Regions from separate parts of the Homo sapiens genome. Here region 2 is linked to region 1. The links are contacts of gene promoters, found by promoter capture Hi-C in blood cells and fetal thymus (Javierre and others, 2016). All regions are on one chromosome and are shown on one strand. Each heading gives the region's core, a stretch centred on a gene start or on the middle of the fragment in contact. The rest is flanking DNA. Distances are from core to core; before and after follow the strand shown.

Region 1 (5,514 bases), core at 2,455-4,954:
TTATACATTTTAATGCATATAGTATTTCATGATAAGGCATCATAGGAGGAGTCGACATTCTCAGGGAAAATGCGGAAGGCCTCCATTTGCATCTTGCTACATTCAGAAAGGTTCTGTCGTTAGGTATTGGGGGAGTTTTGTGAAGTAGATAGGTGACATTTGTACATGTTCTCTCAGTGGTGCAGGAGGTGATTGAATTCTTTGTGATGGTCTTCCAATTTGGGGTACCCCAGGCCCTGTTTGGGGTGCGCCGTATGCTGCCTCTCATCTGGTCTAAGGAGCCTGGTGTCCGGGAAGCCGTGCTTAATGCCTACCGCCAACTCTACCTCAACCCCAAAGGGGACTCTGCCAGGTATATGGGGTGCTTTTGCCTTTGCTGACTTTTCCAAGGTCAGCTTCTCACAGGACTTCCCTTGTCTCCTAAAGGAAGAGGTGCATTTCTCCAGGGGAGTTCCAGATCCATAGGCAGTCCATCATAGTGGGGCTTAGGGTGGGGCTCGGTTTCCAGGGAGAGCAGTTTTGTAGCACTGTGGTGGGATAGCCCTAATCACTGTTTGCCAAGTTCAGCTTCCCAATCTTATAGTGACCGCTGATCTCTGCTGTTCCCACAGAGCCAAGGCCCAGGCTTTGATTCAGAATCTCTCTCTGCTGCTAGTGGATGCCTCGGTTGGGACCATTCAGTGTCTTGAGGAAATTGTAAGGCTTCCTGCTTTCTCTTTCTTTATTCATTCAACAAGTATTTTGGTTGTTTTTTTTTTTTTTTTTGAGACGGAGTCATGCCCCATTGCCCAGGCTGGAGTGCAATGGCACAATCTTGGCTCACTGCAACCTCCGCCTCCCAGGTTCAAGCAATTCTCCTGCCTCAGCCTCCCGAGTAACTGGAATTACATGCATGTGCCACCATGCCCGACTAGTTTTTTGTATCTTTAGTAGAGACGGGGTTTCACCATGTTGGCCGAGCTGGTCTCGAACCCTTGACCTCGTGATCCACCCGCCTCAACCTCCCAGAGTGCTGGGATTACAGGCGTGAGCCAAAGCGCCCGGCAACAAGTATTATTGAGTTATTACTATGTATTTAGCAATTTACTTAGCTCCAGAAAGAAGTATAAGACTATTTGCTTTCATGTTCCCAACTTTAAAGGAACCAACAGTCTAGTTGGTAGTGAAAAACCACAGAACATTTTTAGAACAATGCAGCAGGTAGATAATAAAGTGCCAGAATGAGTTGTACGGGTAATGGTTGTCATAGCAATAATAACAACCTCACTTATATGGTATTGAATATATGACAGGCACTCACACGTTACTCACAGTAACTTGTTTAATCCTCACGACAGCCCTGTGAGGTAGCATTATCTGCATTTTACAATGAGAAATCTGAGGCACAGAGAAGTTACTGAACTTGGCTGGTTACAGCTAGTTAGTGGCAAAGTTTGAGATTCAAACTCAGGCAATAAGAGCTCTAGAAAACATACTCTTAACTTCTGTGTTCTACTGAGGGATACAGAGTAGGAAAGAGAGCGGTTTGGGGTAGAATGGTCAAGGAAGCTTCCTGAAGGTGGTAGGACTTAAGCTGGGTCTTGAAAGATGAGTAGGATTTAGAGAATCAGAGCAAGGAGGGAGGGCATTTCAAACAGAACCCAAGAAAGAGCACAGTTCACATTGTAGAACAAAGAAGACTGTGTTCTGGTTCAAATTATCTGGAAAAGACCAGGCGCGATGGCTCACGTCTGTAATCCCAGCACTTTGGGAGGCCAAGGCAGCAGATTACCTGAGGTCTGAGGTCAGGAGTTCGAGACCAGCCTGGTCAACATGGCGAAACCCCACCTTTACTAAAAATACAAAAAAATTAGCCAGGTGTGGTGGTGGGCACCTGTAGTCCCAGCTACTTGGGAGGCTGAGGCAGGACAGTTGCTTGAACCCAGGAGGTGGAGGTAGCAGTGAGCCGAGATTGCGCCACTGCACTCCAGCCTGGGCGACAGAGGGAGACTCTGTCTCAAAAAAAAAAAAAAAAAAAAAAATCTGGAAAAGATAATAAAGTTGTGAATGTAGGTTGGAACTAAACTGTGGAAGTCCCTGAATGACTTCAGGAGTCTAGGACTTTAACTGTGTTAGCCAGGCACCCAGCATTTTAGTGAGACATTCTGCTTTGTAGCATTTGCATTGCGGGCACAGAGAGTGGAGGTGGCGCTGGGAAGCGTGCTCCTGCCAGCCACATTTTTCTCCTCACTGGGGAAAAGAAAAGAGCCTGGTGGTGGTGATTGGCCATGATGTCATAGGTCAGTTACCGGCAAAAGCCCTACAAGAGGCAGGGGAGAGCACCTGCAAACTGGGGTGCAACAGAAGGGACGTGGGGAAGCAGAGGCTGAGGAGACCAACCCATGGGAAGGAAGGCCCGTGGAGGCTGCTGCAGTGGGCAGTAACGAGGGGCTGGACTTGAGGATTGGAGAAATCACTGCAGAATGGGCTTAATGGAAGACAAATTTTTAAAGGAAAAATAGTGACTGATTTGTAAAAAAATTAGATGACCGAAATTTTAAGCACATATTACTGATAGAGTGTTGATACCACTGGCAAAATGAAAAGGCAAGGAAGGATGATGGCTTCCATGTTGGACATGTTGAGTTTGTGGTAACGGCAAGAAAACCTGTTAGAAATCTCCAGACTTAGAACTATGGACCCACGTGGAACTCAAAAGGTCAGTTTCGATATGTCACTTGAATAAAATAGTTTTGAAGGCATGAGAGTAGAAAAGTAGAGAATGGAAAGCCTCTCAAGACCCTGCTGTACATTTTGAACCTCCTCTTTTCTTTTTCTCTTCCTAAGTATTACTTTTGTCTACTTCAGGTTCGCAATATCATCTTCAGAAAAGCAGACCAAAGATCAAGGAATTGTTCATTTTTGGCTTGAGCCCTTTTTCTTTTCTCTTTAGCTCTGTGAGTTTGTGCAGAAGGATGAGTTGAAACCAGCAGTGACCCAGCTGCTGTGGGAGCGGGCCACCGAGAAGGTCGCCTGCTGTCCTCTGGAGCGCTGTTCCTCTGTCATGCTTCTTGGCATGATGGCACGGTGAGGCTCAAATCTAGCAGGCAATGGGGTGGGAGAGCAAAGGAAGGTTCTGAGAGGGCTCCTTTTCCTTCAGTGACATTGTCACAGTGAGGCCCAACTGAGCTCTGCTGTGAGTTATAACGCCACCTAAATGGAAAAGCAAATAGTGAGAGGACCAGCCCTCCTGCCTAGTAGTAGTGGGATTCAGTAAAGCAACAGGACCCAAGAGGCTGGCCCTGCGGCAGAGCCACGCTATAGTGCTCCACGGCTCTAGACACCACATGAGGTGCTGGTACCTACCCCTATTGGCCCTTTCTCCCCCGATGAGTCCAATCCATGACTGCCTTTAACTCTGTGGCTTCCTTCCCCTAGAGGAAAGCCAGAAATTGTGGGAAGCAATTTAGACACACTGGTGAGCATAGGGCTGGATGAGAAGTTTCCACAGGACTACAGGCTGGCCCAGCAGGTGTGCCATGCCATTGCCAACATCTCGGACAGGAGAAAGGTATGTGGGGGTGGTTCCAAACTAAGGAGAGTGGAGATTCTCGTGTCCACCCTGTACACACACCCACGTTGTCTTGCTCTCCACAGCCTTCTCTGGGCAAACGTCACCCCCCCTTCCGGCTGCCTCAGGAACACAGGTTGTTTGAGCGACTGCGGGAGACAGTCACAAAAGGTGAGCTCTCAGGGAAGGCCTTGGGCAGAATTGGGCCCTTTGTTGCAGTAAACAACTTCTCCCTCCTCCTCTGCAGGCTTTGTCCACCCAGACCCACTCTGGATCCCATTCAAAGAGGTGGCAGTGACCCTCATTTACCAACTGGCAGAGGGCCCCGAAGTGATCTGTGCCCAGATATTGCAGGGCTGTGCAAAACAGGCCCTGGAGAAGCTAGAAGAGAAGAGAACCAGTCAGGAGGACCCGAGTAAGTGGGCAGGGGTTGACCCACTGCGGCAGCCAGCTTCTGTTCTCCCTGCAGGGCCAGGAGCCACTGCCACCACCACTATCTGCAACAACCCTTAGTGTACACTGTGTCGTTTTTGTCTAAGTTGAAGTTGGGCCAGTTCCCACCCCCAACTCTTACTACTTCACTAGTTTGAATAGCACGTGAGCAAGGGGAAGATCAGTAAAAATCGGATTCAGGTTTGATGGGACTTAAAAATGTCTCTTTGCCCCACCTTCCCTCTCCCTCTCCTCCAGAGGAGTCCCCCGCAATGCTCCCCACTTTCCTGTTGATGAACCTGCTGTCCCTGGCTGGGGATGTGGCTCTGCAGCAGCTGGTCCACTTGGAGCAGGCAGTGAGTGGAGAGCTCTGCCGGCGCCGAGTTCTCCGGGAAGAACAGGAGCACAAGACCAAAGATCCCAAGGAGAAGGTGTGTGAATGTCCTCAGCACTTCCCAGATTTATTTCATACCTCAGCTCAGAACTGAGCTGATCCCCTTCCGGCAATCTCTGCTCCTCTGCTATTACATGAAGCGAAGAGTTTCTGCCTCTCTGTGGCTACTACCGTAGGAAAGGTTCGTGTGAACAATGACGAAACTGTCAGTGATCACCCAGGAAGGAAAGATTTAGGTAAATGCAGAGTGTGGAGTTAGAGACCTCAGCATAAAACAGAGGCTTTGTGTCTGAGGCAGGGTTTGTTAGAACACGCACGTACCCGCCGGCCTTTTCCATCAGCTTCCATTGCTGGCCTGGCCCCGGATGGGGCCCTGTGTTCCCTCCACTAGAGGCAATGATGTCTTGCAGACAAATAAGACACAGAGCCTTGCAGCGCTGGAGAAAAGTCTGACCTCTGTGACTTTGAACCATTGTCTGGCGTGATCCATCTGTTTACCATATATAGGAAACGATGTCTTCCATGAGGAAGAGGTGCAGAAACACGCTTTGGCAACTTAAAACAAATGGGGACCTCATTGTTCCCCTGCTTAATTCAGGAATCCTTTCTCTTTACAGACACATTTGACAATTCTCTAAATGTTTTTGTAGAATTTGCCCTTCCTCACTTTGTTCATGCAAAACAAAGTATGGGCTGGAATCAAAAATGTTGTCTCTGCTTATCCATGATCCCCAATTTCATTCCCTTTAGAATACGAGCTCTGAGACCACCATGGAGGAGGAGCTGGGGCTGGTTGGGGCAACAGCAGATGACACAGAGGCAGAACTAATCCGTGGCATCTGCGAGATGGAACTGTTGGATGGTAAGAAAAATGGCTGCACTCAGCAGTTTCTTCCCAATTAAGATAACCTGTCCCAAACCTGCAGTTACTCTTCCAACAGGCAAACAGACACTGGCTGCCTTTGTTCCACTCTTGCTTAAAGTCTGTAACAACCCAGGCCTCTATAGCAACCCAGACCTCTCTGCAGCTGCTTCACTTGCCCTTGGCAAGTTCTGCATGATCAGGTAGGCCGTGGGGTTGGTACCCCCTTCTCAAGGAAGATGGGGATGAAATGGCTTCCCTAATGATCCTCTTCTT
Region 2 (5,824 bases), core at 2,288-4,787, 160 kb after region 1:
TTTCTCTTAAGAGACACAAGGAACTACATATTCCTTCTCCAATCTCAAATCTCAGAAGCCCTCAGGAGATAAAGAAGAGAGACACTATCAAGTATTAATAATAGTCGTGAAACACGGTAGGACTTGAACTCTTGGCCCAGAGCTTTGTCTATCTGACCACATCCTTCCGTAATGCTACCAACCATCCAGGGATAAAGATGACATGGCCTCCAGCAGGTGTTTTTGGCAGATATGGTGAAGACCACCATCTCTTTCCCAGAACCCACTAATTGTTTTTTTACTGTTGTTTTTTCAAATAAAGCATGATTTTCTTTCCCCAAGAAAACAGCATTCCCTTAACACAACCAACCCTTAGAAAACCATGAAATACACTCATCAAGTTCAGTAGCTAGAGAATGGCCTTGGGAATCAAGACTTCTGAATTCTTTTTTTATGAGACAGAGTCTCATTTTGTTGCCCAGGCTGAAGTGTAATGGCGTGATCTCAGCTCACTGCAACCTCCACCTCCTGGGTTCAAGCAATTCTCCTGCCTCAGCCTCCCAAGTAGCTGGGATTACAGGCGCTTGCCAACACATCTGGATAATTTTTGTATTTCTAGTAGAGACGGGATTTTGCTATGTTGGCCAGGCTGGTCTTGAACTTCTGACCTCAGGTGATCCGCTCTCCTCAGCCTCCCAAAGTGCTGAGATTACAGGCGTAAGCCACCGTGCCCGGCCAAGACTTGTGAATTCTAATTCTAGGTCCTATATCAGTGGATGACTCTTAACTATTTAAGTGGATGAATTAACCATTTTACTAGGTTTCTATCAGGATGGAGGATGGAAGAGGATGAGGCCTGTATAAATAAGTTTGTAAGGCATATGGTGATGAGATAAAGGCAGCACAAAAAAGAGAAAGAATGAAATGCCCCAAGTGCTCCTGAAAAGAAGAGTTACAGAAACACTTCCACAAGATGAGGACTATTAGCGACAATTAGTGAAAATTACATAAGGACTACATAATTACAAAGGAACTACCCAAAAGTAACAAATCTATAGCCTCCGGTTTAGAAATCATCTACAAGTAGCATCAACAAGAAAAAGATGGAAAAAAACAATCAACTTGAATTCAACTACAGAAAGAACTTAAGACGCTATTGAGAAACCATTCCAAAACACACAACTGCAGAAAGGTTACCTTAGCTCAAGACTTGAAATGAAGAAACACAGAGAAAGTTTTTTTTGTTTCTCCAAAAGGAAACAAAATCTCTTTCTCTCAGGGTCTAAAGACATTCAAGAAGGGCCATCCCAGTAGGATGTGACGCTTTCCCGCCAGTATCCATAAACTCTTCCAAGTACAAGTAACTCAGAACAAATGCACCCCAATGTTACTGGGAAACATCATCACACCATACACAAACAAACTAAACAGGACTGCTACCACCACACAGCTGGCAACCTGGGCCAACAGCTTCTAGCCTGGGCACCACCGGACCACTTTACCCTGCATCCTGTGGGAGGGACGGCACGGTGGTTCTCCTTGCCCTGTCTGTTCCACTATAAATGATGGATCTGGGGAATGTGAGGCCAAAATAAATAAATAAGACTGGAGAAGAAGAGATATGTACCCAATATTTAATCAACAACTTGGCTCAGAAACCCACAGGGCATTTTATAAACCAACCTCTGGGATCATAAGTTCTGAACTCAAACTCTTTAGGTCCACTCACTGTCATTTTCAGGCTACCCGAAACTCTTCCAGACCTACTTCTGGAGTCTACTCCGTACAGTTTTATCCACTTCACTCCAGACTAACCATGAAGCAGTTTTTTTTTTCCCCTGAAAATTTCATCTTGCCATACCAAATTCAAATAACCCTGTGTCACAGATTCTAATCACTCCACAGACCCACTTCTAACACTCCACTGGACTATTTGGGATAGGAACTCCATTCTAAACTCAGCTCTGCTTGTTCCAGACACAGGAAAGCAATTCCATAAGGACTATATTGGCATTTAGGGTCTTTGTGTCCCAAAGCAGAATAAAGATTTCCCCTTTGGACACAAGGCAACACTATTCAGTGGCTTCACCTGAGCATTTCATATTTCATTCCTGATGAGCATTAGTAGGAATGGAAAGTGATGGGGGATAGCGCCAACTTTTTACACAAAAACTTCCTGACCCTCAAGAGATAATAGAAAAAAACTGATTTCTCTCCACAACAATCTCAGCATTACAATTGCTATTACTTTAAGTATTCTATCACATTGTGAAACACACACACGCCCCATTTGGTTGTGACCCCTTCTCCCCCAAAACCAGAAAAGCCATTAACCCAAAAATCATCTTACCCTCTCTCTCTCTTCCTCCTGCCGTCTTATTCCTTCTCCTTTCCAGGGCTCCTGAACTTTCTGTAAACAAATTGTCTAGGTTACAGGGGCCAGGCAGGGTGCAGCCACCAGAGAACTGTGGAGAACCTCAGGAATTATTTGTCAGCAGTCAGTCTGGAAGGCAGGCAGACCCCCCAGCCAGCAATCCAAAGACGGGTGGATATAATAACAGCAGTCTAGTGCTACCCTCTACGTGGATACAAGAGAAATAAATCCAATTCCCAGAAACTAAGACGAATTCTATCACCAGCGTTTGGGTTTCACTCCTAGGCTCAGAGACTGGTCCTTGTTCGTTCCCAGGCCACAGGTAACCAGGGGTCAGAGAACATTAGAGATGGAGGAGGAGGAGGGTCTGTGCCCCTGAGGAGTGGCTTCAGAAGGCAAAGCTGAGGGCTGGGGGATGCACAAGACCTTGTGGCAGGCACAGTGCCAGTTCAGGCCCAGCCACTTCCTCTAGCCTTCCCCCCACTTCTTCGAGGACTTCGCCCCCTGCCTACCCGAGGCCTTGTGCCAAGAAGTACCTCCCTCAGCCTGCACCGTGGTCTATCTACTGGAGACCCCAGCTGTCCCCTCAAAACCTTCGCTCCCCTGAGACAGTTCCTGGGAGCCTTCTCCTGATGTCGTCCCCTACCCCTTTCTCAAAGACCCTTCCTTGGGACGTCCCTCCTTCCCCTCCAGGGAGCTGAACTCTGCCACCCACCAGACAGGCACCCGCCCCCTAAACCCCCCCATTCCTTCCCATCGCCCGCTCCTCCACAACCACTTCCGGTTCCGGGACGGACACACACACAGTCACATCGTGGACCCCCCCTTCCCCGCCTGCCCAAGGAAAAGGGGAGGGGGGAGGAGCAAGCAGCTTGGCGCGCGCCGGCTGTAGCGGCGCGAGACTCACCGGGCGGCGACGGCTGCGGCGGCGCCAGAGCCTGAGCCAGGGCGCGGGAGGGGCGGCGTTTGCTGGGAAAGGAGGGAGCCGAGGAGGGTGGGAGGACCAGGAAGGGGCGAGGGAGGGGAAAAAGCGCAAGGCGCAGCGCGCGGGCACGCACTTCTGGAGCGAGACAGACCCACACACTCACACGCACGGAACGCGCGCGAGACACCCGCAGGGCGGGGGCGCGAGGTAGTGGGTGGCCCCCCCTCCTTGCTGCCCTCCCCTTGCACTCACCCGGAAGTGGTGCTGCAGCTCGTGCTCCCGCGAACCCCAGTTCCTCCACGCCCCCCTCCCTCCCCCCAACAGGCTCAGAGAAGAGCTCTGCGGAGAGAAGGCGGGAGCGCCGGAAACGAAAAGGGGGGAGGGAGGGAAATAGCAATGTAGGGGGGGCGCTAATGGAGAAAGAGGGGCGTGCAGAAGCCGAGTCACTTCCGGGAGTGGCTGGAACACTTCCGGCGCCGCTAGCGCTGCGAGATATTCAGGGCAGAAGTTACGATAACTCGGGGCGGAAATAGCTTCTGCCCAGCGACTGGGAAGAGGGGATGTGACGCTATAGCGGAAGTGAAGGCGGGTTCCGCTAGGGGCAAAAGCTGAAACCGGAGGACTCCGGCCCTGAGCTTCCGGAAGGGACATCTGGGGAAGGTGGGGGGGTGGAAACGCGACAGGTTCATGAATTATCCATCAAGGTAGGAGAGGAGGTGTGGGTTCTTCAGATGCTGGGACCCCGTTTCTCTTCCCTCTGGATGTTGAATAAGCTGATGTAGGAAATTACCATTATTTTTTCTGATACCCCCAAGAATGTCTCAATGCTTTGAATATGCGGGAAAGGACTAGGACGTATCCTTGTTTTTCGGAGGTCCCTACTTAGGTCCAGTTAGAAACTCTCCCAGCCATCAAAATCTGTCTCTCTGACACATCCCTTACTTTACTTTGGTCTTTTCTTGTTGCCCATACCCACATCTCTATCCCCTTACCCTGTTTTACTTAAATATAGCACTTATTACTGCCTGATTTATTGTTTGCTGTCCACCTCTCCCAACTAAAATATTGGCTACAGGACAGCGAGGACTGAATTGTTCGTTGCTGTATCCTCATATCCTGGCAGTTAAGTGGTCTGTAAACTCTTGTTGTATAAATGAACTATAGTTCATTATGAACACCTAAATATGAACCCTTTTAGGAAGCCTTGCCTGATTGCTCCAACCTGTAATGGTCCCTCTGAATTCCCATAGTATTTAATACGTACCTTTTATTGATATTTTAACTATTTCATACATGTGATTCCCCAGCAAGATTGTCAGTTCCTCATGGAAGGAAATACGTTGCTTTGCTGAGCATATAGTAAATGCTGAATATGTTGTTTGAACAAGTGAATGCTGTTACAAGCGTGCACCCCGACCTGGCCAGAATCCCCCTGGGCTCAGCTCTAAGCAGAACTGAGGTCTCTCCTACTAATGGTAAGAGCCTCTTGCTGAGAAAAATAACCTTTTTTTTTTTTTTTTAAAGACAGAGTGTCACCCTGTTGCCCAGGCTGGAGTGCATTGGCGCCATCTTGGCTCACTGCAACCTCTGCCTCCTGGGTTCAAGCGATTCTCCTGCCTCAGCCTCCCTAGCAGCTGGGATGACAGTCGCCCGCCACCACACCGGGCTAATTTTTTGTATCTTTAGTGGAGTCGGGGTTTCACCATGTTGGCCAGGCTGGTCTCGAACTCCTGACCTCAACTGATCCACCTGTCTCAGCCTCCCAAAGTGCTGGGATTACAGGCGTGAGCCACCACGCCCAGCAAAAAATAACTTTAACAGAAATAATTATAATGCTCATTTTACAGATAATGAAAATAAGCCTGTAAAGGATTAAGTGATTTTTTCCCCCAAGGTCAAAGCAAGAAAGTAACAAAGTACGCCTTTAAATATTTAAATAGATGATGCATTTCATTGTAATTGTAGTTTGTATCTTTTTTAAAGTGTCTGTTCCCTTTATCACATTTTTGGGCTCAGCACTCAGTCTCTGTTGACTGAGTAGCAACAGTTGGCAGAGTAAGGATTTTAAGGGCTCAGATGTGACCAGACCTATTGCTGTGTGGGTTAGAGATTGCTGATTCAAGAAACCTTGACATCAGGGGCTGGTATTGAAAGGTGGGAACAGGAAATAGTAATAATAGCTATACGTTCTGGTTCTCCTCCTGCTCTTTTCCTATTTATGTTAACTGGGCACTTCCTGGGTCTCCGTGTCTCCGTCAGCCCTATTCCTGCCCTTGCTATAAGAAGGAAGTTTCCCAGCTACTTGGGAGGTTGAGGCAGGAGAATCACTTGAACCTGGGAGGCGAAGGTTGTGGTGAGCCAAGATTGCGCCATTGCACTCCAGCCTGGGCAACAAGAACTAAACTCCATCTCAAAAAAAAAAAAAAGAAGTTTCAAGTGCTTTGAACTCCTTAGGGAAAAGCTTTAGAACAATAAATGTGGGGCGTAGGGGGAGGAGGGCTGTTAATTTTAGCCTGGGGTTCTCCAGCTGGCATACTGTTTCCATC

Evidence for each region. The method cuts DNA at HindIII sites, captures the fragments that hold promoters and counts their contacts. A CHiCAGO score of 5 or more calls a contact.
Region 2: a contact is called between the fragment with the promoter of ZNF384 here and a fragment that was not itself captured in region 1, in 5 of 17 cell types (erythroblasts, naive B cells, monocytes and 2 more). The highest score is 6.9, in erythroblasts.

What each region holds. Positions count from the first base shown.
Region 1 is chr12:6,522,651-6,528,164 of GRCh38, forward strand. NCAPD2 (non-SMC condensin I complex subunit D2) reads left to right here. Exons shown (of 32, transcript NM_014865.4): 16 at 178-352; 17 at 612-696; 18 at 2,933-3,066; 19 at 3,418-3,550; 20 at 3,637-3,721; 21 at 3,798-3,965; 22 at 4,241-4,413; 23 at 5,127-5,238; 24 at 5,318-5,441. Among named protein-coding and RNA genes, the nearest start is that of GAPDH-DT, 9.0 kb to the right of the region's middle. The HindIII fragment of the contact is 4,316 bases long and covers 1,547-5,514 here.
Region 2 is chr12:6,685,838-6,691,661 of GRCh38, forward strand. It overlaps ZNF384 (zinc finger protein 384), which reads right to left and starts at 3,538. Exons shown (of 12, transcript NM_001385745.1): 1 at 3,261-3,538; 2 at 2,330-2,389. RefSeq lists silencers at 3,387-3,496, 3,577-3,656 and an enhancer at 3,390-4,016. The HindIII fragment of the contact is 17,984 bases long and covers 1-5,737 here.